7 separate regions of the Homo sapiens genome follow, and all the other regions are linked to region 3. The links are contacts of gene promoters, found by promoter capture Hi-C in blood cells and fetal thymus (Javierre and others, 2016). All regions are on one chromosome and are shown on one strand. Each heading gives the region's core, a stretch centred on a gene start or on the middle of the fragment in contact. The rest is flanking DNA. Distances are from core to core; before and after follow the strand shown. Region 1 overlaps TNS3 (tensin 3). Region 2 overlaps TNS3 (tensin 3). Region 3 holds the start of PKD1L1-AS1 (PKD1L1 antisense RNA 1). Region 4 overlaps TNS3 (tensin 3). Region 5 holds the start of LOC124901629 (a long non-coding RNA gene). Region 6 overlaps TNS3 (tensin 3). Region 7 has its middle 10 kb from the start of ABCA13.

Region 1 (3,671 bases), core at 249-2,748, 400 kb before region 3:
TAAAGGAGGTGGGTTAAGTGAAAAACTCAGGCTATAAAACAATGCACAGGCTGATCCTACTATGAGAAATTACATGATATTTAGAAATCATGCCAAAAATACACCAATGACGAGTGCTTCATCTCTAGACAGTAAGATGGCGGTAATTATTCCTTCTTTTTGATAATTTACATCTTCAAAAAATATTGATACAAGCTTAAATGTATGTAAAAGAAAGAAAGAAAAGCATAAAACTCATTCCATTGAATCAGGTACCCCAGACACGCCAGACAGCACGTGGGGATGGAGGGTCAGGAGGAGGGGATGCAGATTTGAGGAAAGGCTCCGTGCTTGTCTGTAACTCAGGAGCTGGAATTCTCAAGAATACTCAGGCAGTGGTTCAAGGGAAGGTTGCTGAGATCCAGTTTTGGGAGAGGACTCAGATTCCGTGTGGCGGGTTCTGGGCTAAGCATCCGGATACCAGTCCTGAGCTCGCTCTGAGTCCTCCCCTGTCACTCCACCTCCCTGGGGGTGCTCATGGGCTTCAGATATCATCGAGGCTGCAAGGGATGAACCAGGCACTGGGAGGAGGCTGCACTCTCACCCACTATATCCCTGAGGAGTCTGGGCATGACTCTGCCCATAAAGGGGGTCTCTGCTGCTTTATGAAGCCTGGAAGCAGTAATGACAAAGCTGTGAATCTGGCTGCAAAGTGTACCTGGCTGCCTTGGCGCCCTATCCGACTCCTCACCCTCCTGTCTGGGAACCACTCTTTCCCGGGTGTCCTTCCCACTCTGCCCTGTCCTTCTCAGTTTCTTTCCAGAACTCCTATGCACCCACTCCCAACTGGCTCCATCTTTTGCATGGCAATGCCAGACCTTCTCTACTCGCCCCTAGACCCAACTCTCGGTGACACAGAGTCCCGAGTGCATGCCCAGACCATCACCTGCATGGCTCCACCACCTCCAACCACACAATCCATAGCAGTCTCCCACCTGCTCACACCACTGGCTCAGAAGATGCTGCATGAAAAATACACCAATGGGAATTGTGATTTGTAATGTCAGGGCCTTAGATATTTAAAGTTCAAATTGCTTCTCTAATCATTCATTCAAGAAACACGCATTGAGTATCTGCTATGGACTGAATATTTGTGTCCCCTAAGATTCATATGTCAAAACCTAATCCCCAGAGTGATGGTATTAGGAGGCAGGACCTTTGGCGGTGCTCAGAGCATAAGGGTGGAACCCCTATAAGTGGGATTGATGCCCTCAGAAAGGAGGCTCCAAGGAGCTCCCTCTCCTCACCACCACGTGGAGACACAAGAAGGCAGGAGTTGGCAACCAGATGACAGCCCTCACCAGAATCCGCCAGGCTGGCTGCCTGATCTTGGACTTCCCAGCCTCTCAAAGTAGGAGAAATACACGCTTGTTGTTTAAGACACCCAGGTTATGGTCATCTGTCAAGGCAGCGTGAATGGGCTGAGAGGGCCTCAAAGTAAAGAAGTATCTCCCTCTGCATCTTCAGGAGACACTGCGGTGGCTGAGAGTCTTTAAGACTGAATTCTGTCTATTTCACCCAGTGATAACGGCAAGTCCTCCACATGTATGGATCTATACACACACGCTCACACACATAATTCCACAGATTCTCCGTAAAGTTTCATGTAACCCCTAAAGGATGGTGAACACTCAACTGATTTTCTGTCTATATGTTTTCTACATAAAATCAACGTAGGTCCTTCACCACCTGTGAGTGACATGCTGCAGGCGCCCAGCTTTCAGTTCCCTGGTTGTGACATGGGAAGGATAAAGCCTGCCCCGCAGGCAGGTCACAGGCTTAGCTGGGAGCCAGCTTGGGGACAAGAGCGGGGCACCCAATGAGGGACTGAGCACAGAGCTGCCCTCCAGAGCATGCTCCTCACAGGAGCTGGGGCTCCTCCACACTGTCCACCGGACTTCACTGCTCCCCTCTTACGGCATTGGCACAGAGAACACCCACCTGTGTTTTAGAACCCCTGCCTCCCTCATGGTCAATAACCCTCCAGGCTCGCCCCTCCCTTGGCAAGCAAGGAACCTCCCAGCATCACGAGAATGACCTTTCCACAACTCGCCTCCCTGTTCTCCATGAGACTCGGCACAGCCACTGATTCATCACCTCAGGACAGAGCGCTGCTCACTGGCTCCCATGCAGCAAGGGACCTCTCTGGTAAAATCCACTCGCCTCAGCCTGGAATTTAGGATGCTAAGTCAGCTGTCCTCAGAGTCCCCATCCAGCTCTCCAAATTAGCCCCTTTCCCCATCTTGCCTTGCGATGATTATTTACACACTTCACCAGCCACCGCTTCACCCTTCTCTCCTCCAGTGGAAAACATCACCATGTGATGGACAGAATATAGCTATGCAGATGCAAACAGACGTTACTGGAAAAAGAGCTCTGTGATCAAAAAGTTTGATAACTGTTGTTTGATAAATCTTATGAAATTATTCTCACAGCTTTAAGATTCCAGTGTGCACTGTGATCTTTTGAAAGACAATGTATCATTTTGCAAGAGTTTTCAGCTACATTTCTTTTAACGTGCTGGTTATCTGGAAGGACTGGTGTGCTGAATAATTCACACCAGCAAAGAACACTCTGTTTACTTTACAGGCCAGAGCAAAGCTCTCCCCGTCCACAACTTGCCCACTAGCCCCAGATATCATCTGTGTTTTAATGTCCTTACCATCAACATTCCATCTGTGGGTCTCCACCTCTGGTCTAGGTGTATTTGGGTTGCAACAATTCCTTGAGTTGAAATTCCATCCCACAAGGCCTATGAAGGAGCAAGCTTTTCCCCAGGACAACAGAGAGGAGCCATGTGCTGCCCTGGGACACACAATTGGTGTCCTTTCTCACTAACCACAGACACCCCCTTCCTGGAGTCATGGGAAGCTCAGCGATCCACAAAGATGAGGCGCTACTGCAGTTCTTTCCACAACACTTGCTTTTAGCTATTTTACATCTGGATGTAACTAATCTGACAAAAAGTGTTTTAATTTCTTTCCCAAAGCAAGTCTGATTCTCAATCGGTGGTTGAAAAAGACAAGGGATCAGCATGACATGCTAGGAAAAGCCTCAATTCCCCTCCTTTGAAATCAGCCTCCAGTTGTGTCTTGTGGAGATTCCAGCACACAGCTGCCCCTTCCTTCCTTTCCTCCTTCACGCTCCTAGCTATGACCCAATGTGCATATTACACAGGTGAACAGAGGACATGTTTGGGTGAGACGGTTTCACGAAAACAGAGATTTAAATGATACAGCCATAAATCAGGAACACTAGACTAACAAGCAAACAGAAATTAAAACAAGATGTCTGTTGCATGTGGGGCCGTACAACAGTAGCTAGTTTGGCTGTGGCCAGCGCTTGGCATCCCCATATGCAAAACGGAAGGGACGGAAGAAGGGGGAACGGTCCCTGGCATTATACATACACACAAGTTCAGGCCAAGGAGCTCCTGGATATAACTTCACTGACAGCTCATCCACCCGTTACAGCTTCACAAAAAGCCCTGACCCAAACTCACCATGCCTTATTCTCACGAAGACCCTCAAAACTCACAACTGTGTCACACGAAGGTGTGATTCTGGACCTCTGAGAAAACAGGGGAAATTTTTTCTTCTTAGCAGACTGCAAAATACTTCAGATATTTGAGT
Region 2 (3,994 bases), core at 286-2,785, 420 kb before region 3:
CCCCTTGGGGAACAGAGAGAGAAACAAGAGATGGAAAGGGTGGTGGGCACATTTCACGGCATCCGAATAGACAGATCAACAGAGGCAAGGGAAAGACGGAGCAGTGTGTGAGAAGAAAGGCATCCACTGATGCTGAAGCAGCCACCCTCAGGTGAGCCAGGTGAGGCTGCAGGAATTGGCATCTTCATCACCTGACAAACAGAGAGAATTCTGGAAACACCCCTCTCTTACAACTCAGCTGACCTCCTAAAGACAAGGCCACCGTGCAAGCTCCTCCCATGCGCCCAGCACACTGTTAGGCCCCAGGGATCCTACTCAATTCCCAAAGCAATCCTGTGAAGCAGGAAACGGGAAGTCCATTTTACAGATGAGAAATCAGAGGCTGAGAGAGCCTGCACTAACATTAACGATTTTTTTTACAAGCCTACTGAATAGAATATCTGAAATTTAAACCAACCTCCCTCCACTCCAAAAAAAGATAAAATTCTAATCCTAGTCAATCACTTTTTATATTTCACAGATCAACTATCTAGATCAAGACACACACACACACACACACACACACACAAACTCATATACACCTCACTCACTCTTCAGAGACTATTAAGTGCTTTGTGCTTTCCTCCCTAACTCCTAAAATTATTCATTATCAGGAACAGACCCTTGTGGTGTCACAGCCGCTGCAGTGATGGTCACAGTTTTTGTTCCGTTTCTTAAAGCTAGTGCATTTCTATCCTCACAGTTAGTGGATCGGGTGCTGTTCCTAGCATGGAGTCTTCAGTTCTCCCACACACCCATGGTACCAGCAGCCCCATCGGGGTCAGGAGCCATGGATATGCCAGAGGTCCTGCCTGTGCCTGGACCACCACAGGGAACAGGTAGCTTCTCCAGACACAGCCAGGAACCATCCTGTCCCTAGGTCACCCTCAAATGACTCACTTGGGGCCGTCCAGCTGAATCAATTCACCATATCCAAACAGTCCCAATAAGTGGAGGCTTATTGGAATGATGTCTGCAGCTGCAAGTGCCCATGGTGGGCTCTGACAACCACAGCCCAGGGAAAATGCTGAAGACAGAGAGGCTTCGGTTTCAAAAACGAGTGCTCATCTGCAGGCAGTCTCCTGGAGGGGTCTCAAGGACTATGCCGAGTGAACACTGCCAGACTCAAAGGGCTCGACTGTACGACTCCACATAGGTGACATTCTGGGGTGGAGACACTGTGTCTGGACACAAATGGGTGTGGTCGGGGCCAGGAGAAGAGTGGGGCTGCAAAGGGTGTGAGGGATGGTTTGGGCAATAGAAATATTTGCGTCTTGATAGTGGTGGGAGTGTCATGGCATAATGTTTGTCAAACTCAGACTACTATATACTAAACAGAGCAAATTTTACTGCATGTAAATTGCATCTCAGTTAAAACAACCGTTGTGAGATCAAGACAAAAATGAGACTCACAGCAGACTAGACCCCAACCTGAGGTGGCTCCTCTTGATCTCCTCCCTTCCTTCCCTCTTCCTCTTTTTCCCCCTCCTCCCTTTCCTCCTCCTTCTCCTCCTCCCTTTCCTCTTCTTCTCCCTCCTCCCCTCCCTCCTTCTCCTTCTCCCCCATGCCCTCCTCCCCCTCTTCAAAGGCCTTCCCTCCTCTTCCTAAATTCCATGAGACAATGGAAACCCTCTCTCCTTGGGATAACGATCATAGTCCCTTTGCGCCTCATTGTCACATAAAGCGTCTTTTGACATTTCCATTGGAGTGATTCATGTGCACACCTTCCCTCCCCTTCTAGAGGTTCTGGCATAATCCAGGCTTGAGTCCTGGCTTGATCATAGCTGTGTGACTTCAGATGAATCACTCCGCCTTTCTGTGCCTCACTGTCCTTGTCTGCAGAGAAGCAACCTGGAGAAGGGGGTGTTTGCTGATATCAGCTCCCAGGACCACTGGGATTCAACACAAAAGGCATGGCACACAGCAGGCATTGGGCAAACCCTCCTTTCTGTGCTTTCCCCCTCTCTGGTCAAGTGAAGAATTCCCAGAACTCACAAGTGATTCATGTGTGGACCCTCTGGGTGCAGAGCTGAGGGACAGAGGAGTGCTCCATGAACATCTAATCAGTGAGTACACAGAACGCAGGTCCACTGACCTCCCGTCTCGAGAATTACACTGAGGAACTGTTCTCTAATATAAAGCTATGGTGAAAGATGGGTTTAAAAAAACGTATTCAGAAGTTCCCTAAGTCATTTTTTGATATGACTGAAATTGTCCCAGGCACCAACTTTGCTAACCATCCACCCAGTGCGACTTTATGGCCAAGCTGCCCAGCTCAGGATCTTACCAGCTGTAAAACAGTTTTCCCATCCCATACTTTGTTTGTTTCCTCGGTGACTGACAGCAATGATGGCAAAAGCAGCAGTAATAAGCTAACTGGGCAACCACTGTCTTCCAAGCACTTCGTACCTATTGTCTCATTAGGCTCAAACCAAACCCAGAAGGGGTATGGATTCTCCTCTGCTTAACCCACAAGGTTAGGGGGATTGCAAGGGACCGAAGCATGTCCAAGTTTCATGGGGGGAGGGCTAAGGGTTTTCTGGCAGATTGTGTCATGCACACCCAGGGTTCCCATCACTGCATCACATGACCTCCCCTCAGCAGTGAGAGAACATTTCTCCTGGATTTGCTAGGTCAACTGACACATGAGCCATGGCACCGGCGCTGGACTTGTGAGTTTTCCAGCAGACCATTCAGTTGATGGGTCTGGTGCTGCACAATGTGGAACAGCCAGTGGGGGTTTCAGTGCTGGTGAGGACAGGTGCTAAGGGACTGCCTGGATTTCAGGCTCCGGCGCATGGAAGAGTCCATCACCAAGCCAGGAGGGCTGAAAACTAGGCTGTGGCCCAGAGCACAAGGCAGGGTTGAATGGGGTTAACAATGAAGCAAGGGGCATTCTCACATTTGCGAGGAGGGGAGGTACGGGTAGCCCGGGCAGTGTCCCAAGGGTACCTGATCCCTGGAGGCCTGGTAGGGGCTGCAGACACCGAAAGACCTTCCCAGTCAGGAAGCGATATCTGAGCCAAGAGGTTCCTTCTCAAGGGGCGTTGTATTATCTTACCCATAGCATATGCAAAAATCACTCTCGTTTTTTCCATGTGGACATTTATAATTAGAGCATGTATAACCTCTCACTCAAACAAGGTCTGCTTTAATTTTATTACAATAGAATTCTGACTCTTTGCTAATTAATGATTTTTGGAGTTTTTATTAAATCATTTTCTATTCCACAGAAAATTCAAGAGCTAAGAAATGAGGACTACACTTGGGTCTTTGAGAACACTGCTTTTAATCTACTAAATCAGATACTCTATGATTTTGATATATTTCAAGACGCGATGAAATGTGCCCTTTTCCTCTTTTTTTATTTTTGTTTTTACAAAAAATAAAAGACGGTAATAAACTCTACTCTGTAGGGACAACTCTTTCTCTCCTTAGGCAGAATAACTCCATTCTAAGGCATTGCTCCCTTGGTGCATCAGTCTCACCTTGAGAGTTAACTCCTTCCCAAGCCCCCAAACCCAAATCACCCTCTGAGCTGCCAGGAGGGGAGGTGCCCAGCAGGAAAGAGGCTGCAGCGGCAGCACCAGGACACCTTGCTGAGACTGCCGGAGGGCGCTGGAAAATCCCTCCCTCTGAAGTAAAGCTGAGCTGCTTGCTCACGCTTTCTAAAAATGAGGCAGACTGTAAATTCTTAGAGAAATATAGAGCAGAAAAAAAATTAACAAAAGCAAGAACCAGAGCAGAACCTTCCACACAGAAACGCCTGCCCAGCCACACACTGCCTCTCTGGGAAGGGAAGGCATCCCACTGCAGAGCAGGAGCGACTCAGGAGCTGGGCCAGATTCCAAGCGCTCCCGCGGTCTCCTGGGTGAGGCTCTGGAATGTGGCGATAAAGGAGCACTGTGCTCCGAGTGGGGCTGTGGCAGGCGTGTCACAGACGCCGCCAAGGTGC
Region 3 (3,574 bases), core at 827-3,326:
ATGTACAGTACCGTGATTACATATGACTGCCTTCAGAACCTTACTGGATGATGCTTAAATATCACCTGATATGGTTTGGTTGTGTCCCCATTCAAATCTCAACTTGAATTGTATCTCCCAGAATTCCTGTGTTGTGGGAGGGACCTGGGGGGAGGTAATTGAATCATGGGGGCTGGTCTTTCCCGTGCTATTCTTGTGATAGTGAATAAGATCTCATGAGATCTGATGGCTTATCAGGTGTTTCCGCTTTTGCATCTTGCTCATTTTTCTCTTGCCACTGCCACGTAAGATGTGCCTTTCACCTCTCGCCATGATTCTGAGGCCTCCCCAGCCATGTGGAACTGTAAGTCCAATTAAATATCTTTTTGTCCCCAGTTTCAGTTATATCTTTATCAGCAGCTTGAAAATGAACTAAAACAGTAAATTGGTACCAGTAGAGTGGGGTGTTGCTGAAAAGATACCCAAAAATGTGAAAGTGACTTTGGAACTTGATAACAGGCAGAGGTTGGAACAGTTTGGAGGGCTCAGAAGAAGACAGGAAAATGTGGGAAAGTTTGGAACCTCCTAGAGACTTGTGGAATGACTCTGACAAAAATGCTGATAGTGATATGAAAAATAAAGTCCAGGCTGAGGTGGTCTCAGATGGAGATAAGGAACTTGTTGGGAACTGGAGCAAAGGTGACTCCTGTTATGTTTTAGCAAGAGACTGGCAGCATTTTGCCCCACCCTAGAGATTTGTGGAACTTAGAACTTGAGAGAGATGATTTTTAGGGTATCTGGCAGAAGAAATTTCTAAGCAGCAAAGCATTCAAAAGGTGACTTGGGTGCTGTTAAAAGCATTCCGTTTTAAATGGGAAATGGAACATAAAAGTTAAAGAAATTTGCAGCCTGACAATGCAGTGGAAAAGAAAAACTCATTTTCTGGGGAGAAGTTCAAGCCAGCTGCAGAAATTTGCATAAGTAGCAAGCAGCCTAATGTTAATCCCCAAGGCCATGGGGAAAATGTCGCCAAGTCATGTCAGAGACCTTCACAGCAGCCTCTCCCATCATAGGCCTGGATGCCAAGGAGGAATAAGTGGTTTAGTGGACTGGGCCCAGGTTCCCCGTGCTGTGTGCAGCCTAGAGACTTGGTGCCCTGTGTCCCAGTTGCTCCAGCCATGGCCGAAAGGGGCCATTGTACAACTTGGGCTGGGGCTTCAGAGAGTGGAACCCCCAAGCCTTGGCAGCTTCCATGTGGTATTGAGCCTATGGGTGCACAGAAGTCAAGAATTGAGGTTTAGGAACCTCAGCCTAGATTTCAGAAGATGTATGGAAATGCCTGGATACCCAGGCAAAAGTTTTCTGCAGGGGCGGGGCCCTTATGGAGAACTGCTAGGGCAGTGTGGAAGGGACCTAGTGGAGCTGTGAGAAGAGGGCCACCATCCTCCAGACTCCAGAATGGTGGATCCTCTGACAACTTGCACTGTGCACCTGGAAAAGCCACAGACACTCAATGCCAGCCCATGAAAGCAGCCAGGAAGGAGGCTGTACCCTGCAAAGCTACAGGGGCAGAGCTGCCCAAGACCATGGGAACCCACCTCTGGCATCAGCATCACCTACATGTGAGCCCTGGAATCAAAGGAGATCATTTTGGAGCTTTAAAATTTGATTGACCTGTTGGATTTTGGACTGGTATGGGGCCTGTAACCCCTTGGTTTTGGCCAATTTCTCCCATTTGGAACAGTTGTATTTACCCAATCCCTGTACCCCCATTGTATCTAGGAAGTAACTAACTTATTTTTTATTTTACAGGCTCATAGGTGGAAGGGACTTGCCTTGTCTCAGATGACACTTTGGACTGTGGACTTTTGGGTTAATGCTAAAATGAGTTAAGACTTTGGGGGACTTTTGGGAAGGCATAATTGGTTTTGAAATGTGAGGACATGAGATTTGGAGGGGGCCAGGAGCAGAATGATATTGTTTGGCTGTGTCCCTATTCAAATCTCAACTAGAATTATATCTCCCAGAATTCCCACATGTTGTGGGAGGGACCTAGTGGGAGGTAATTGAATCATAGGGGCTGGTCTTTCTCATGCTATTCTTGTGATAGTGAAGAAGTCTCACAAGATCTGATCATTTATAATGGGTTTCCACTTTTGCATCTGGATCATTTTTCTCTTGCCACCACCATGTAAGAAGTGCCTTTCACCTCCCACCATGAACCTGAGGCCTCCCAAGTCATGTGGAAATGTAAGTCCAATTAAACTTCTTTTTGTTCCCAGTTTTGGGTATGTCTTTATCAGCAGTATGAAAACAAACTAATATATCAGCCATGAAGAAAGTGAGTATTCAGTGTGCAAACGCCTGGTTTGATTTGTTTACATGCATGTCTGGGGTGACTGAACTCAAGTAATGCACCTAAGGCTCTATGTTTTGGATAGAAGTTTGGGTTTGATAGCAGGCACCAAAAGCAAATGACTAACTCAGGGGACAGAATACAGCATGTCTGTGTCCTGGGGAAGACCATAAACTCTGTCTTTCCAACTGTACAGGTCACTATAAGGATATAGTGAGTTAAGGCAGGAGAATGTGCTTGGTAATCTGTAAAGTGTTTTAGAATTGCACGGGAAAATTCCATGAGTTCCACTATGATTGAGACTAATTTTGTGGCTTTGCAAGGAGATTTGGCATGGAAACATACTCATGCTTTGATAACTGAAAGCAAAATTCTGCAATGAAACCATCATCTTGAGTGTGTGCTATCATGCTCAGTAATCCAAGATCTCACAGCTTACGTGATTCTCAACCATCTCAGCCTCTTCCAACTTTGGTGTTTCCAGTCTCAGAAAGGTGAGGACCTTTTCCCACATATAAGCAGTGACATCTTTAAGTCTCACAAAAGATTTACTTTGAAAAGATTTTCTTTTTTGGGGTAAAGTCATGAGAAAACCTCTCAGCTAGGAAAAAGAAAAAAATAAAGACAAATTTCATGTTAGCAGCCTAAATAAAGAGCTTTGTTAACGTGATAAACTATGCAATGGAGATTATATCTGATGATGCTACTTTACGAGCTTTTGGTAAAATAGTGATTTCTTGGTGAAAAAAAGCAAAATCAGGAAAATACCTCTCCTGAATTGAACTAAATGGCAGTAAGATGATCTCAGCAATGGAAATTCATTGTATTATAAAGGTTGTTTTCAGTATCTAACTTTGGAGACTGAGATTATCAACGCGATGTGCATGCCCATATGTAAAGTCTGTGTCTCAGTTTCAGTGTCCCCTGGTGAACCATTCTGAGCTGTGGGTGAGCCTCAGGAGAGAGGCCTGTGCCTGTGCCTGGGAGACCAGAAAGGGTCTTGGGCTCAGCAAGTTGTTGTGCCCTCAACATGTGCTCTATAAGCCTCCAGGTGGTTTATTTCTTCACTGCAGGCTGTAAGCTGTTAGCTCAAAAGCCTACTGGTAACAAACTCGAATTTTTACACATCCAATTGTTTAAAAAATAACCCAAACAGGGCTGGGCGCAGTGGCTCATGCCTGTAATCCCAGCACTTTGGGAGGCCAAGGCAGGCGGATCATGAGGTCAGGAGATTGAAAC
Region 4 (3,537 bases), core at 713-3,212, 500 kb before region 3:
AGTCCCTAAACTAGGGACTCAGGTGACGAGGCTGTGTTAATGCAGGTTCATCAACCATAACATGTGCATCACTTTGCTGGGGGATGTTGACAGCGGGGAGGCTATGCGTGTATATGGTGTATCTCTGTACCTTCTTCTCCATTTTGCTGTGAATCTGTCACTGCTCTAAAAAAGAAACTCTATGAATAATTTTTTTAAGTGACCTGCTCTGTCTGGCGAGCTGGTTCTTGGGTGTTGTATGTCTCACTGGGGTTGCTGGCAGTGTGGGTCAAATCATTGACTCATGTCAAGTGACTTGTTGAGTCATGTCTCTGGAACATTTTTACATTTACAGTTGCCGAGACAGATCACCCACATCCTGTCTTACTATATTTTCCCCCAAACTAAATCCAGGGCTTGACATTTATTCCACTGAATTTAGTCTTGCTTGAGTTAGACCGGCCCATGAAGGCCTTGCTGATGTCCCAACAACTGCACCCCACCCAGCTCTGTGCAAGCTTCTATAAAAGGAAACCTCCTTCAAGGCTCACAGAAAAGAAAGGAAACCTGAATACTGAAGTGCAAAAGGAAGTTGTGTCAGTGAGTCCTTTTTCTCCCCAGTCACCAGATGTAGAAATGGAGCTGCATTTACTGACCTGCCCCCTGCTTCAACAGCTCAGCTGCTGAATTGGCTGCCGTCTGGGGAGAACTTTCTGCTATTTCCTCCAATGGATCTGTAGGAAGGGGCAAGAAAATACAGAAATGAGTCCTGCTCCTGACCAAGAATCCTCATGACAAAGTTAGACAATTTGATGACAGAATTCCCAGATGGTGACATGCAATGGTTTTGCAGAGTCAAGAGTTTCTCTTTGGGACAATAATTTGGCCCATAGAAACCATGATCACATTCTGAATAAAAGTAGAGATGACAAGGCCTAACAAAATATTTTTCTAATCACCGAATTAGTCATATGAACAATGACACTTTGAAAAGTAAATCACATTTACCTATATATTAAGTTAGACCATTTTTATGTGAAGTTGTGACTGCTTAGGAAAGTGGGACATACGGTCACATCGCCCTGACATGCTGTGGGTGTTATTTAATTTCATTATGGATATTGTTTAACAAACATAAAAGTAAAAAGAACAGTGCATCCATCATCTAAGTTCAACAACATCAACATTTTGCCCATTCCGTAGAAACGTAAAAATTAAATGTCAATGACCCTGAAGCCTTCTTTGTCTGAGGGTTTTATATTTTTAAACTACAGAATCTTTGCTCTATAGAAATCTTTCATCAAAATCCATGATGTAAAGCTATCTGGGAGCTGTCAGTGAAGTAGAATCTCCTCTTCTCTCCTTAATTTGGATGAACTCATTGGCCTTTTCTTGGGTTCAACCAAGAGAATACGAAAAAACTTCCAGTCTTATTATTTTTCTCAGTGGATCTTCATGGATCTCTAAAACCGGTGGCCTTGACTGCAGACAATCTACACAGAGCCTGACTAGCACTGAGGACCCCTTACCTCTCTCTGGGATAAGCAGCTTGCACGGCAAGGCCAAGGGCGTGATGGAATGCTGGCACACCAAGGCCGTCAGGCTCCCTGCAAAGTGGACAGACAGCAAACAAGAGTCAACAACTGCTGTAGATGTTGTGTGCTCAGCCAATTTATCAGCTGGAATGAAACGGATGCAAAGGCTGAGCCCTTATCTTTTTAGCAACTGGTATGTTAGATTAGTGTGCAGCTTTGTGTAAAACTTCAAAGAAGTATAAAGTTCCACAAGATAGTTGAGAGGTAAGTAAATGGAACTGTTTATCATTCTTATCATAGACACATCATTACCAAATTATATAAAGACTAAAGCATACAGTTTGTTGGATCTTGAATCAGGAGGGTTGACATCAAGCCAACTCCAACTTCAACCATATATATTACCCCTGCACAATGCTTCTTAACAAAGCTCTAATAACAATGATGCCTAAGGCTGCACTGTGCTTTGTGTGGATTGCTCAAGTCATCTTTCCAACAAGCTCGTGAGGTAGGGAAGGCTCCCAATTTGCAGGGAAGGGAGGGTGCTCTGTTGGGAGCTCTATGTTGTTCCTTGTGCTGTGGGATAGGGTCATGCTGGAGCTCCAACCTTCTCAGGACTTACCTGCCTGCCAACTAGGATAGAATCTTATTGACGTCTGTAATTCCTACGTCTGATATGGTGCTTTTCATTTGTTTGGTTTTGACAGAGCTTTTAAGAACAACTTCAAATCTAGTTTATCTTAAAGATAATAATGCAGATCAGCAGGATTTCAGAACTGGGGACTGAAATATGAGTAAACCACCATAAGAGTGATAGTCCCAAATCTCAGGTTGGTGAGCAGAGGGAATCCAGGCCTCATGAGTTCAGAACATTGACAGCAACCTCTCAAGCAACTCACCGAAATATGGTTCATTCGAGCACCCTTTCAACCGCACTCCCTTCGGGGTACACTCGATCAAAAAGTGCCGGACGAGTTCATTGGCCAAATCTCCAGCTGTGGCAAGAAATTTAAAGAAAGAAGAATTTTTTGAAAATGGGAGCATGGGAGAATTCAATAGAGAGAACATAAAAGCCAGGAGCTACAGTTGAAAAGGCTCTTCTCTGAATACGAGTCCAGTCACTGCAAAAGAGGCTGCCAAGAACCATCTTCGTCCTAGGAATGGTAGCCGGGCTGCAGGACAGCTGGATGAGCACAGGCTAGGCCAGATACAGGGCGGGAACCCTTGCAATGACAGTGTGGGGGCTGGAGAGGTCCCTTGGGAGAGGCCCTCAAACATTGTGCAAGAATCCCCAACGAAGGGAATGAGCTTGCAGCTAAGAAAGAGGATCATGAATCTCCAGCTGAATCCTCTCCCAAAGAGGAGAGGTGAGAAAGGCTCAGACACAAAATGATACCTATAATGAATCACTGAAAAGAGCTGGAAGGAGGTCAGTCTTCTGGGTGGGATTTAACCAGGAGCCTGGATCTTTAAAACCTTCCAGAAAGCAAGCACTCAGCTGCACGGGAGCAGCACTCTACCACATTGCTATTAACAGTAAACAGTGCATCTGCTTTAGGCCAGCCCATGAGTCCAAAGAGAAAACACATCATAAAAAGCCACTGAATGGCAAAACTATCTGAGAGTGGAAAAGTACAAACAGCACAACCAAAAGAACAAGAAGTCACTGCCCTATGCTAATGAGTCCAACAGACCTTCACAGTGTGCTGTATTTCTGGGATCCAGTGCTTCCTTCATCACCCTCCATTGGGGCATGTCTGCCTAAACTTCTAATATTTCTGGTGTTGGAAACCTCCTGGCAGCAAGATCCACTGGAGTTGGGCTTGGTCCCCAGTGCCTTGCCCACAGTAGGCTTCCAAAAGATGTTTATAAACATGACAAATATCACTGTGTCAGCATTTCACAAGGGCAGTAAAGCTTGCAGAAAAGGAAATGATCAGATTCCATAAAAGGCTGTGTTGAATTAAAGTGGGATAAGAACATATTGACATTCAGTTGTGGGAAGAAAATGACGCCTGGCTTC
Region 5 (3,660 bases), core at 1,072-3,571, 430 kb before region 3:
ACAGGTCCACCAGGCTGATGAACTGTGGGGAGCGACGCAGCCGGTGACTTCTGGCAGAAGCCGTGGGAGCCGGCAGTGCTCTCGGGAGTGTCGGCAGCCTTGGGTGCACAGAGAGGGCTCACCCCTCATCCCAGGTCCTGGCATGAGGCCCATGTCAAGCCACAATGCAGTGGACATGTGGCATGATTGGAAAAAGACCATGTTGCTTTATGTCCCTGAGACTGTGGATTTGTCGTAACTGCTCCACCCTGACAGAGGGAGAGAATTCTACCACCACCTACCTAGGATTCCATAAATTAGCAGTTCCCCTGAGCCAGCACTCAGGCCGTTAGGGTCACACAGATCAGCCCACTCCCAGTGCAGCTTAGGCAGAGCTTCTGGGGACAAATGAAACACCCCAGAGACCTGGTGATACCAAATGACTTTCAAGCATCAGTGGGGAAGTTCCCCAGCAAGTTACAGAGGTGCCACAGGACCTAGCAACCCCTCTCCTGGGTAACGCCCCAAACAACTGAAAGCAGGTGTTCAGACAAACACAGGCACACCCATGATCACAGCATCACCATTCACCGAGGCCAAAGGTGGGAACAACCCAAGTCTCCATCGAGAGAGGAATGAATAAACAAACTGTGCTCTATCCCAGCTGTGGAATATTACTCTGCCAGGAGCAGTACTGAAGTTCCCACATGGGCTGTAACACGTCCGGCTCGAAAACATCACACACCACGTCACAGGAGCCAGCCACAAAAAGCACATACTTTGTGATGCCATTTATGTAAAATGTCCACAGTAGGCACATCCCCAGGGACAGGAGGGGATGAGTGAGTGCCAGGGGTTTGGCAGGGAGGTGTGGACAGGAAGTGACTTCAGGGGGTATAAGGTTTCCCTTTGGGATGACGACAAATTTCTGAAACTAGATAGTCATGATGGTTGCACAGCAATGCAAATGTCCTTACTACCACTGAACAGTACACTTAAAAATGATTAAAATGCTAAATTTTATGTTACATGTATTTCACCACAATAAAAAATTAATGAGTATTTTTTAAACCTGAGGGATGATTTCTGTTTTCTACTGTGGGCCGGACCAAAGATTTTCATCTCAAAATTCATATGACTTTATTGTGAATTACTTTCTTTTTATTTTTCCTTTGACATGAGTGTTAGGGTGTTAAATTTAGTTTTCAGTATGTGCTTAAGGAGGTTATATTCGCTATGACTTTCATCTCAGAAGAGTAAAGATGGCGCTAGAAGGTATCTGTTATAGAAACGATACTTCATTTTGGGCCTGAACCAGTGAAGGTCCCTTGATGTAGCTATCACGGGCAGTGTGGACTGAGCAGAAGGTGGGCTGGAATCCACACCTCAAAGTCCCAGAAGGCCCAGATAGCACCTTCTCCTCTGTGGCCCTAGCCTCTCAGCAGTGTCTTCAGAGCGCCCACCAAGGTGGTAGGGTGGGAAACCAAGGCCCCCTGCTTTGCAGAGTGAGAGTATCTGGGGCAAATGGAAAGCTTCATCAACTCTAAAATTTCAAAGTTGGTTTTATGCAATAAAAAGAAAGTAATTGCAATGGCAGTTTCCCCAAGCAGACTGGAGTTTCTCATTCTAAAACGTTTTCCGAATTGGACACCCACAGAGCTCCCTGCAGTGCAGTGGGCTGACTCGGTTATTAAATGTGCACTCACATACACATGACCTGTTCATACCCACGGCCCTAAAGCATCGGGGTCTGAAGGTGGAGAGGAGCTGTGTCTAGTCCTGACCCCTGGGCAGGAGTCTCTTTTCAGAGTTCTCAAGGCACATAAATATCCCATCTCTCTCAGAAACCTCCAGAGACTGAAGCTCACAGATGGAGAAAAAGCCTTGTTTTGCCAGTGGTAGCAAACAAAGAGCAAGAGTCCCTCACGGACGCATGTCCAGCGCCCGGGGCCCTGGCTCCTTGGCTCCCAGACCTCCTCTATCCTGGTTCTCTGATGTGAGTACCAGGAAGTCCCTTTATAAGACCTGGGTCCTAGGACCTCACTCAGCTCCCTGGAGGGGGTGGTGGCCAAGGGAAGCATCTCAGAATAAAGGTGACCCTGGGCTGACTGAGACCATCCAGAGACAGCCCCCAAAAGGCAGAGGTGCTGCCATCAGCCCTGGTCTCTTGCTGACGCCTGAGTCCTTGGAGGGCTCCAGGAGTGTCTATGCCTGGTGCTGCGGTCACTCCTCCATCCTCCACCTCAGATGCGCACGCTGCTGTCTTCCCCCATGCTCTGAGGGCCCGGCACTGGCAGGATGATGCCCATAACTGGGCACTGCTCAGTTATAACACACAGTACGGAAATAACGACACCTGGACTTTTAGAAAGTACCATGGATCCCCTGTGTCCCTAGCACGGATCTGAAACCCCCATACCCAGATCACTAATAGCCAAATTCAAGGCCCCTTCATTCTTCCAATGTCCAGCTGCTACGGGCGCAGGCGCTGGGGCCCACTTGCTTACTTCCCTCCCTCCCTCCTGAGATTCTTCCTCTGCAGAGTTGGAGGCCAATGCCACCCCATGGAACCCCCATCCTGCCTAAATGCTATCCTCCATTGTCTCTGGGACCCTAATAGAGCTCCCAGGCTCAGTGCACCTTCTCAGTGCCTTCTCTTCTGGTAAGACAGTAACCATGCCAAAAAAAAAAAAAAAAAACAAGCAAGGGCCCAGCCCAAGACCCCAAGGCTCGCCTCTGCCCTCAGGGAAGAGCCACACTCCTTGGCCCCCATCCTGGCCCTCCATGGTGGGGCCTATCTGCATCTCCAGCCTCACTCCCCAGCACTGAACTTCCCTGGCACACTATGCTTTCTCCCGGTCTGCCTCTCCTCCAGACCATCTGCCTGGTAAGGATCCCTCTGCCTCACAAGGCCTGGCTGAGAGGCTCTGGCTGAGCACCCCCAGCACGTTCCCCAACTCTGGAGTTGAAATGAGGTGGGACTGTCTGCCTGTCTCCACTTTGTGAGGCTGTGAGCCTTCTGCCACGGAATCAGAGCTTGCAGATAAGCTGCTTTCTGAATCCTAAAGCGCTCTTCCAGCTTTCACATTTGGTTCCTTTGGTTGGGGTTTAGCACACAATTTAAATCAACGGGCTCTCCATGGTCAATTATTAAAAGCTTACAGTTTCCATTGCTCTGAACTTTCTTTAGGATGCACAGGTTATCAGCCATGGGTTAGCACTAACAGAGCAGATGCCGAGTCTGGGAGGGACATTAAATGCCTGGTGGGAATGCCACAGCACTATCTGCAAGCAGAACAGGGCCTGCCAGGTTGCTGTCATCACAGGGTGGAGGTTGATGTAACATGAATAAAATATTTTGACAACATGAAGCAAAGAGCCCTCAAGGTATGAAAAAAAACCACAGAACTGGCTTTTTGCCACCCACGGAATCATGAATTTCACAGGTTGAGTCATTTCTTTTGTTACTGGGATATCATCAGTTGAAATATTCTCCCACTTAAAAGGGTATGATACAAAAAACCCACCACGTGCAGGCTGAAACCAGGCTGAGACCCAGAGTGGGGCGGGGACAATGAGCCTGGCAGCAGCACCCAGGGGCTCTTCCACAAAACACCAGTGGCAGCAGAAGTCAGACCAGAGTGAGGGAGCAGGGCCTCATGGCTGGCAGGCACTTGTGGG
Region 6 (3,706 bases), core at 348-2,847, 470 kb before region 3:
ACTATTTTACTAATAGTGACTATCTGCGCGGTGCTCAGTGGGCTTACTTGACCCTCAGAACAACTCTTAAAGGTGTGCACTCTCGTCCATCTATACCTGTGAGGAGGCCGAGGCTTCAGCACTTCCCCTCACCTGCACCTGGAGGGAAACACACGCACCACCCAGCTGGAGCAGGACTCAAACATGATTCTTGGGTTTCCCACCTCTAGCTCATTAGCACGAACCTCATTCCTTTTCCTTTTCACTCTGTCCACAGCTCTGTGAGTTAAGAGGAATCCTGGTATTCCACGAGTTGGGAGTATTAGTCAGCTTGGGCTGCTATAAAAAATACCACACAGTGACTGAACCAACAGAAATGTATCCCCTCCCAGTCTAGCAGCTGGAAGTCCAAGATCAAGGCATTGGCAGGGCTGGTTTCTCCCGAGGCTTCTCTCTGCGGTGCACAGATGGCCATCTTCTCCCTGTGTCCTCACATGGTCTTCCCTCTGTGTGTCTGTGTCCTGATCGCCCCCTTCTACAGGGACACAAGTCATGTTGGATGAGGGCTCACCCTAAGGGACCCACTTTCACCAGTCACCACTGTAAAGGCCCTTTCTCCAAACACTCACATCCTGGGGTTCGGGTTAAGGCATCATTCAACATAGGAATGTGCAGGGGGTGGAGGGAGTCACAATTCAGCCTAACACGAATTGTGTGTGGTTTGGGGAGATGCAGCCCCTCTATAAATGGCAGGAGAGTGACATAGGCCCTACTTCAGAGTTCTCAGGGAATCTGCCAAGTTAGGGCATGAAAGGTGTTTACAGCAGGGCCTGGCCCCTGGCAAGCACTCGAAAGATCCATCGCGACGAGGAAGAAATGAAAACTGACATGAGGCATGTGGCTTTTGAGGAGACCACACAGACTTTCTAATGTGTCCCTTCTGACTCTTGGAGCATGGGAATTCTGACCAGCCTGAGGCAGGACTCCAGGAGGAGCCAATTGTGCCAGAAAACCTGCATCTCATGGGGCCCTGAGCCAGCCCGAGGAGGGAGATGATGCGGCTTCACCCGCCTTCCTTCTTGGTCCCGATTCTCCTCTCTTTGTGTTTTTGTTTCACTAAGGTTTCCGATTCATACCATGCCTAATGGGTAGGCTACTCACTTTGCTGATGCAAGGGTCTCATTCTCAACCCACTGGTTTTCGGTGGTACCATTCTCCTTCAGGCTGGCTCTATGTTCTTCATGGGCAGCGTCTCCACGGTCATGCACCATGCCACTGGCTTCTGGACCCCGAAGGTGCTATGGAGCCCAGCTCCATTCCACTGAGTCCAAAACTCACGAATACAGAGGCCACCAGCACTACTGAAATGCCAGCAGGGTGTGTCGGCATTTGGAGGGCCTTCCAGCAAAGCTTTGAACATGCTATAATTGCTCCAATATAACAAGTGATGTTCCAATTAATAAGATAATTTACAGCAATCCACAGTCTCTGCCACAGGTGGTTCTCTCTCCAAGAGGGCTGTCCCGGGACAGAACTGGACAATGCTTGAAGCTCTCATCTGTCCCTCTGCCCATAATTACTCCTGTCTCATAGGAAATAAATTTAAGAAATAACCATTGTGCTCTGAGGGGAAGGAGGGAACAAACACTTGGGAGTTCAGAAAGACCTTCGCTCAAATAGACCAAATTGTCCTGATTTTACTCTACATTGTTTTCTTCCCCCAAAGACCATCCACTTAGAATGCACAACACAATATAAAAGACCTCCTTGTCTACAGCACTCAAGCCTCTCTCTAACCAGCAGTTCAGGGAGGGGGACCCACTGCTGAAGCTTCCCTCCTGCCCATCATCCACCAAGGTTTTCCTGATGATGAACATTCACTGAGGACTTCCCGACCCTCCCAGCTGTCCTGGAAGGAGGAGTCTCATTGGCATTCTACAAAAAGATTAAAGGCTAAAGAACTGTAAAAGCATCAAGCATCCCTCAGAACTGGTCCCTCAGCCCCAGGACCAGGGTCTGGGTACATTACATAGCCTTGACCTATAGAAGGAAGCTGATGCAACAGCAAAACCACAAACCAATGGGAAAGCACATGAGAGTGAAGTAGAACGGGCAAAAAAAAAAAAAAAAAAAAAAAGCAAAGGCCAGGTGCAGTGGCTCACGCCTGTAATCCCAGCACTTTGGGAGACTGACGCAGGCGGATCACGAGGTCAGGAATTCAAGACCAGCCTGACCAACATGGTGAAACCCCGTCTCTACTAAAAATACAAAAATTAGCCGGGCGTGGTAGTTCATGCCTGTAATCCCAGCTACTCAGGAGGATGAAGCAGGAGAATCGCTTGAACCCGGGAGGCGGAGGTTGCAGTGAGCCAAGATCGCGCCACTGCACTCCAGCCTGGGTGACAGAGTGAGACTCCGTATCAAACAAACAAACAAACAAACACACACACACACACAATCAAAAAAACAACCCAGTGAAATGAAAATTAACAAACATACCCTAGGAATGGAATGTTATGATTAGAAAAAGAAAAAAGAAAATGGTTTGTGAAAGCCTGTATATGACGAACATAAAACTGAGGGGAGTGCCTAAATATTCTAAGTTGCTGATAATATTTACCATGAGTCGAGTGCAGTGCTCAAGCTGGAAGGACTGGAGACCCCGCAGAATCACAGAAGCCCTACCCGGGGCATGAAGCCCTCTAAAGCCCTCAAGAGCAGCCTGCCTCCGCTCCCTGATTCCCTCTTACGGAGGCCCTCGGTGGCCACGGACCCTGCTCTATCTGGCACATGGCCAGTAGCACACTGCTGGAACCGTGTCAGAGGTGAGGCTGTGTCTCATTCACTGTCACATCACCAGGGCTTCCTACATAGGAGGCCAGCAGGGAGGGGTCCCCTGCTGAGGATTCATTGCATGGTAGGCACCCCGTCTCCAGCCCACCTGCAGCTCTGCACACCCTGGGCCGACCATGCAGCCAGTCTAGGGCTGGAGGTACCGCTCCTCGAGGCCTCATGTGCCCAGTCCCCAGTTGCTTTTTCTCACGGAGCCACATTTCTGAAATCTGTGCATACCTTTTCACCCACAGTGCATCCTGTTTTACCTGGCACTGTTTTCCCTATCTTAGTGTCATATAAAATGACAGCTTTTCTGAGAATCCACCTATCTTCGAATCTTCAAAAGAAACCCAAACCAAAGAGGCCAGAAAGAAGTGGCACATGCTTCCGGTACTGAAAGAAAAGAACTGTCAACTGTGAATTCTATATCCTGCAGAAATACCATTCAGGAATGAAGGAAAAATAAAGAAATCCAGAGATGAAGGAAAATGAAGAGATTTTGTTGTTTGCAAATGTCCCAGTAGGGAATGGCCAAAGGAAATTTTCTAAACAGAATGAAAATCATAAGATTTGGAACTTCCAAAAGGAAAGAAGAATGTTCAAATGAGTCAAAGTAAGGGTAAATATAACAGTCCATTCTTCTCATGAGTTTCTTAAGTCACTTTTTATAGTTGGAGCAACTAGCAGACATCATCACATGTGGTACTCACCATAAACGGATAAGATACTTCCAACAATTGTACTTTAAAAATGGGGAGGGTGAAGAAACTTAAATTGAAGTAAGATTTCTATGCTACGCTCCAAGTGATAAAATAATACAAGTAGCCATAAATAATGACAAGTTATGTATATACCAAGAGCGAGGACTAAAAAAACTACAGGGAGGGATATA
Region 7 (3,680 bases), core at 273-2,772, 370 kb after region 3:
CTTGGACTCTTCTTGTGATATAGGTTTCATAGTAAATGTCTCATTTCCTAATCACCGTTGAACTAGCAAACCTTCGCTTTTGTGCATTATAGTAGAAGAGAGACTGATGACCTTGCTTTCGTGGCTTTCTCCTTTGATTGTCATGGCTGCATATGGACTTTTAATGCTTTCCTCTTTGCACATCATCCACTGAGTAGAGAGTTGTGGAAGAGGTGGTTGCTGAGGCAGGTGGCTGACATCAGGGAAGATGGCAAGAAGTGAGTCAGTCTTGGGATGGAAGAATCTGGGAGCAGGTAGCATTAGGAGAATGAGGGTTGTATTAAGTATTTAGTCACATTTCATCCATGGTGTTCTCTTCATGTTGTACTGATTGAAACGATAAAGCTGTGGATGGCCAAGGTCACGCTGGTCATTAACTGCAGGTTGGACCTGGAACTCCCACCTGGATGATTCCAGTGCCAGAACCTGACTTCCCTTGGAAATCCAGCTACTTACTATTCCCCAAACCTCCCACCTCCACTTTTTCACTACCCTTGGCTTCTCCTCCTTCTCTCCTTCTTTGAATTATGTCATCATTAATTCCTTTGTACTTTTTCCATGTCTCAGCCCCTGCCAAAGGCCCTTATTCCCTTCTCCTTGGACAGTTGTGATAGCCTTCTTCCTGCTGGCCTTCCTGCCTCTAAGCTGTGCTAAAGGGGAGGTGGATAGTTGAGATGGTTATTTACAGAGAAAGGGAAGGACAGAAAGCAGGGCTCCCAGGATTCTCTATGGACAAATTCTGTTCTCTTTCAGCCACTTGTATCAGTGAGGCATCTTAGTGAGATAAGAGAGACAGAGAGACAGAGAGAGAGAGAGAGGCAGATGCTCCTTCCTGATGACCATGGCAGGCCGGCCTCAAATCCTGACTCAGCCATTCCCCTAGAAGCTGGTTTTTATGAACCATTTGGTGGACTATGTATCAACAGGATCAACAAGAAAAATACAAGTTAATGTTGCATATTATAAAGAGATAAATTTTAATGTAGAAAACTTCTATAGGTGATGGAAGAGCCAAGAAGCCAGGGAGGCAATGGTGAAGTGACTCAGAAATCGGCAATTAGGGTAACAAATGGCCAATGGGGGCTCCAGGCTGGAGGAACAAGGGCAGGAGATGGAACTGCTGCAACTCAGGGTCACTTATGCAGGCTGGAGCCCTGACAGGGAAGGGAAGTGCAGGGGGAAGGATGGAGGGTGGAGGAGAGGAGACAGGGAAGAGAATTTCTCTAGAGAACTCTGCCACACTGGCCGCTTTAACTCACTAACACCCACACACAACTGGCTCAGCTCAGGGCTGCTTGTTTCTGCTCACCAAGGAGCCCACCAGATGCTCTTTGCTCAGGGGGTTTTGACACATGTGGGGTTCCAGGGCCCAGGCTGCTTCAATCTTGTTCTGCCATCCCCTAGGGCCTCTAATGGAGAGAGGAGAACATTGACTGACACTGAGGGCCTGGACTTGGAAGTGACAACGGTATTCCCCTCACCTTCAGTGGCAAGAGTGAGCCACTTGGCCCAGTGCAAGGGGGCTAGGAAGTCCCTTGCTGAGCATCGCCCTGGGCAGCGGCTCAGCACTGTGTGAGGAGAGTGCCATCCTAAGGGACATTGGTCACCTCTGCCTCATGGCTTAGATACTATTTTGCTTGTGAAGGAAACCAAAATATTTCATATATATATATATATATATATATATATATATATATTTGGAAATATTTAGAGATAGCTATTCTGAGGGACTGGAAATACAAGAGTAGCAGAAAAGCTGTCCTTCTTGGGAAGAGCTGTATCTGTGGAGAAATTCTGCATCCCCCTTCTTGGGGTAAACAGAACTTACAGTGTCTTTTATCTAGTCTGCCAGGCTGCCTGGTTGCTCCCTCAGGAATAACCTCCTATGTGTCTGGATCATATAAAACTGTCTGCAGTTGCTCAGTGTTGAGATGTGGGTCCCACATCAATCCAAATGTATGCTTTTCTGCTCTGTAACATTTAAAACCAAAGATACTGCCCCTAAATTGGTCACTCTTGTAATCCATTTTAGTAAAGATGTCTCAGGAAGCTGATATTACTGATCTACAAAATGGAACAATTCCTTCACACTATACCATTTGGTTTCAATAGTTAGTTGGTTCGCCCTTCCTTCATATTGATTATTTTCTTGGTAACCACAAGTCTCAGAGGTACTTTCTGTTGTTCCTGCATAATATTTTCCTTTGTTGTTGACTTTGAGGCTAGAATCCTGAGCTCAGATGGACCACATCTGAGTTTGATCCAGCTTCAAGTTCTGACTCAGCACCCTCTTTTACTTTCATTTTAGCCATTATAGATAACAGTCACCAAAAGATTGAATATTTTTTTTTTCCTTATTAGTTTGCATTTCCTTATGTATCCAAAGAAACAATTCCTGGAGAGTAGGATCCATCTCTAAATTCCATTGGTAACTTTCACCTTTAGTAATTGATCTCAACATAGCTGTGGCTTTATAACATGGGTGACCACCTGGCTACCCAGGAATCAAATATTCCTCATCCCCCACTCTTTTATCCTTTCTCTTCCCAAGCCACATGTTTCCATGAGTCAGTGCCATTCCAATAAATCCCACTTCACTCACCAATTGTGTAGAGAAAAACTTTTCTCAAACTGCATGTTCCCTCCACTCTCACACCACATTAGTGATCAACACAGAAGACTTCTGTGACCAAATGTGTGGGTATTTTTTTTCCCAAACACCAAGGAGAAGACAGCAGCTAAGTGTCCTTTAATTTAGTTCTGACACTGTCTACTCAGAGATAGTGTCAGATCCCACAGGTTGAAGGCTCAGTCTCTGAGACTGCCCCTCTATACACACCAGTTGCAAGTCCAGGCATCTGGAACTTCTGACTGACCAGCTTTATGTTGGGGTTCCCATGACCCTCTCTTTGGGTTCAGTTAATTTGCTGGAGTGGCTCACAGAATTCAGGGAAACACTTATGTTTACTGGTTTATTATAAAGAATATTGCGAAGGATACAGATAAAGAGACACATAGAGGAAGGTATAGGGGAAGGGACATGGAGCTTTCATGCCCTCCCTGGGTGCCACCCTCCAGGAACCTCCACTGTCTAACTGTCCAGAAGCTCACTGAACCTCTTCCTCTTGGGTTTTTATGGAAGCTTCAAGAAATCAGCATTCATTCCCCCAGTGTATAGTATGGGACCTTCTCATGGGAGGGTCTTAAGATCCACAGTCAGAAAGACAGGGGAACATTAGAGTAAAAGGAGGGCAGGAGAAAGTAAGAGGCCTGTCCCTGAGGCCTAACACACCCAACATTATGAGAAAAGACTGTAACAAGGGCTATGGGAGTTATGATCCAGGAACTGTGGACAAAAACCAATGTATATCATAACACCACACTGCCAAAGTAAGCTTAATAAGTGAAGGAGAAATAAAATCTTTTCTAGACAAGCAATTGCTAAGGGAATTCATTGCCACTAGACCAGCCTTACATGAGGTCCTTAAGGGAGTTCTAAACATAGAACTCAAAGAATGATACCTAATACTATGGAGTTGGTTCCTTTCAGTGAGTTCTTGGTCTTGCTGACTTCAAAAATGAAGCTGTGGACCTTTGCGGTGAGTGTTACAGCTCTTAAAGGTGGCATGGACCCAAAGATT

Evidence for each region. The method cuts DNA at HindIII sites, captures the fragments that hold promoters and counts their contacts. A CHiCAGO score of 5 or more calls a contact.
Region 1: a contact is called between a fragment that was not itself captured here and the fragment with the promoter of PKD1L1-AS1 in region 3, in 4 of 17 cell types (total B cells, M0 macrophages, M2 macrophages and 1 more). The highest score is 14.7, in total B cells.
Region 2: a fragment that was not itself captured here is called in contact with the fragment with the promoter of PKD1L1-AS1 in region 3 in 1 of 17 cell types (naive B cells); the score reaches 7.3 in naive B cells.
Region 4: a fragment that was not itself captured here is called in contact with the fragment with the promoter of PKD1L1-AS1 in region 3 in 7 of 17 cell types (total B cells, naive B cells, M0 macrophages and 4 more); the score reaches 12.2 in total B cells.
Region 5: a fragment that was not itself captured here is called in contact with the fragment with the promoter of PKD1L1-AS1 in region 3 in 2 of 17 cell types (naive B cells and total B cells); the score reaches 8.1 in naive B cells.
Region 6: a contact is called between a fragment that was not itself captured here and the fragment with the promoter of PKD1L1-AS1 in region 3, in 2 of 17 cell types (naive B cells and total B cells). The highest score is 6.1, in naive B cells.
Region 7: a fragment that was not itself captured here is called in contact with the fragment with the promoter of PKD1L1-AS1 in region 3 in 1 of 17 cell types (M1 macrophages); the score reaches 5.3 in M1 macrophages.

What each region holds. Positions count from the first base shown.
Region 1 is chr7:47,393,071-47,396,741 of GRCh38, forward strand. All of the region lies in intron 16 of TNS3 (tensin 3), which reads right to left. Among named protein-coding and RNA genes, the nearest start is that of SNORD151, 70 kb to the right of the region's middle. The HindIII fragment of the contact is 2,611 bases long and covers 194-2,804 here.
Region 2 is chr7:47,376,188-47,380,181 of GRCh38, forward strand. The region is part of intron 16 of TNS3 (tensin 3); the gene reads right to left. Among named protein-coding and RNA genes, the nearest start is that of SNORD151, 87 kb to the right of the region's middle. RefSeq lists an enhancer at 3,419-3,994. The HindIII fragment of the contact is 9,574 bases long and covers 1-3,994 here.
Region 3 is chr7:47,793,215-47,796,788 of GRCh38, forward strand. It overlaps PKD1L1-AS1 (PKD1L1 antisense RNA 1), which reads left to right and starts at 2,077. Exons shown (of 4, transcript NR_161269.1): 1 at 2,077-2,229. PKD1L1 (polycystin 1 like 1, transient receptor potential channel interacting) reads right to left here. Exons shown (of 57, transcript NM_138295.5): 55 at 2,775-2,936. The HindIII fragment of the contact is 8,231 bases long and covers 1-3,574 here.
Region 4 is chr7:47,291,320-47,294,856 of GRCh38, forward strand. It overlaps TNS3 (tensin 3), which reads right to left. Exons shown (of 31, transcript NM_022748.12): 25 at 2,414-2,509; 26 at 1,509-1,586; 27 at 636-713. Among named protein-coding and RNA genes, the nearest start is that of SNORD151, 170 kb to the right of the region's middle. RefSeq lists enhancers at 161-520, 1,744-2,943. The HindIII fragment of the contact is 2,934 bases long and covers 496-3,429 here.
Region 5 is chr7:47,358,547-47,362,206 of GRCh38, forward strand. The region is part of intron 17 of TNS3 (tensin 3); the gene reads right to left. It overlaps LOC124901629 (a long non-coding RNA gene), which reads right to left and starts at 2,659. Exons shown (of 2, transcript XR_007060319.1): 1 at 1-2,659. The HindIII fragment of the contact is 1,625 bases long and covers 1,510-3,134 here.
Region 6 is chr7:47,320,121-47,323,826 of GRCh38, forward strand. All of the region lies in intron 20 of TNS3 (tensin 3), which reads right to left. Among named protein-coding and RNA genes, the nearest start is that of SNORD151, 140 kb to the right of the region's middle. The HindIII fragment of the contact is 420 bases long and covers 1,388-1,807 here.
Region 7 is chr7:48,159,335-48,163,014 of GRCh38, forward strand. No RefSeq gene overlaps it. Among named protein-coding and RNA genes, the nearest start is that of ABCA13, 10 kb to the right of the region's middle. The HindIII fragment of the contact is 3,313 bases long and covers 1-3,179 here.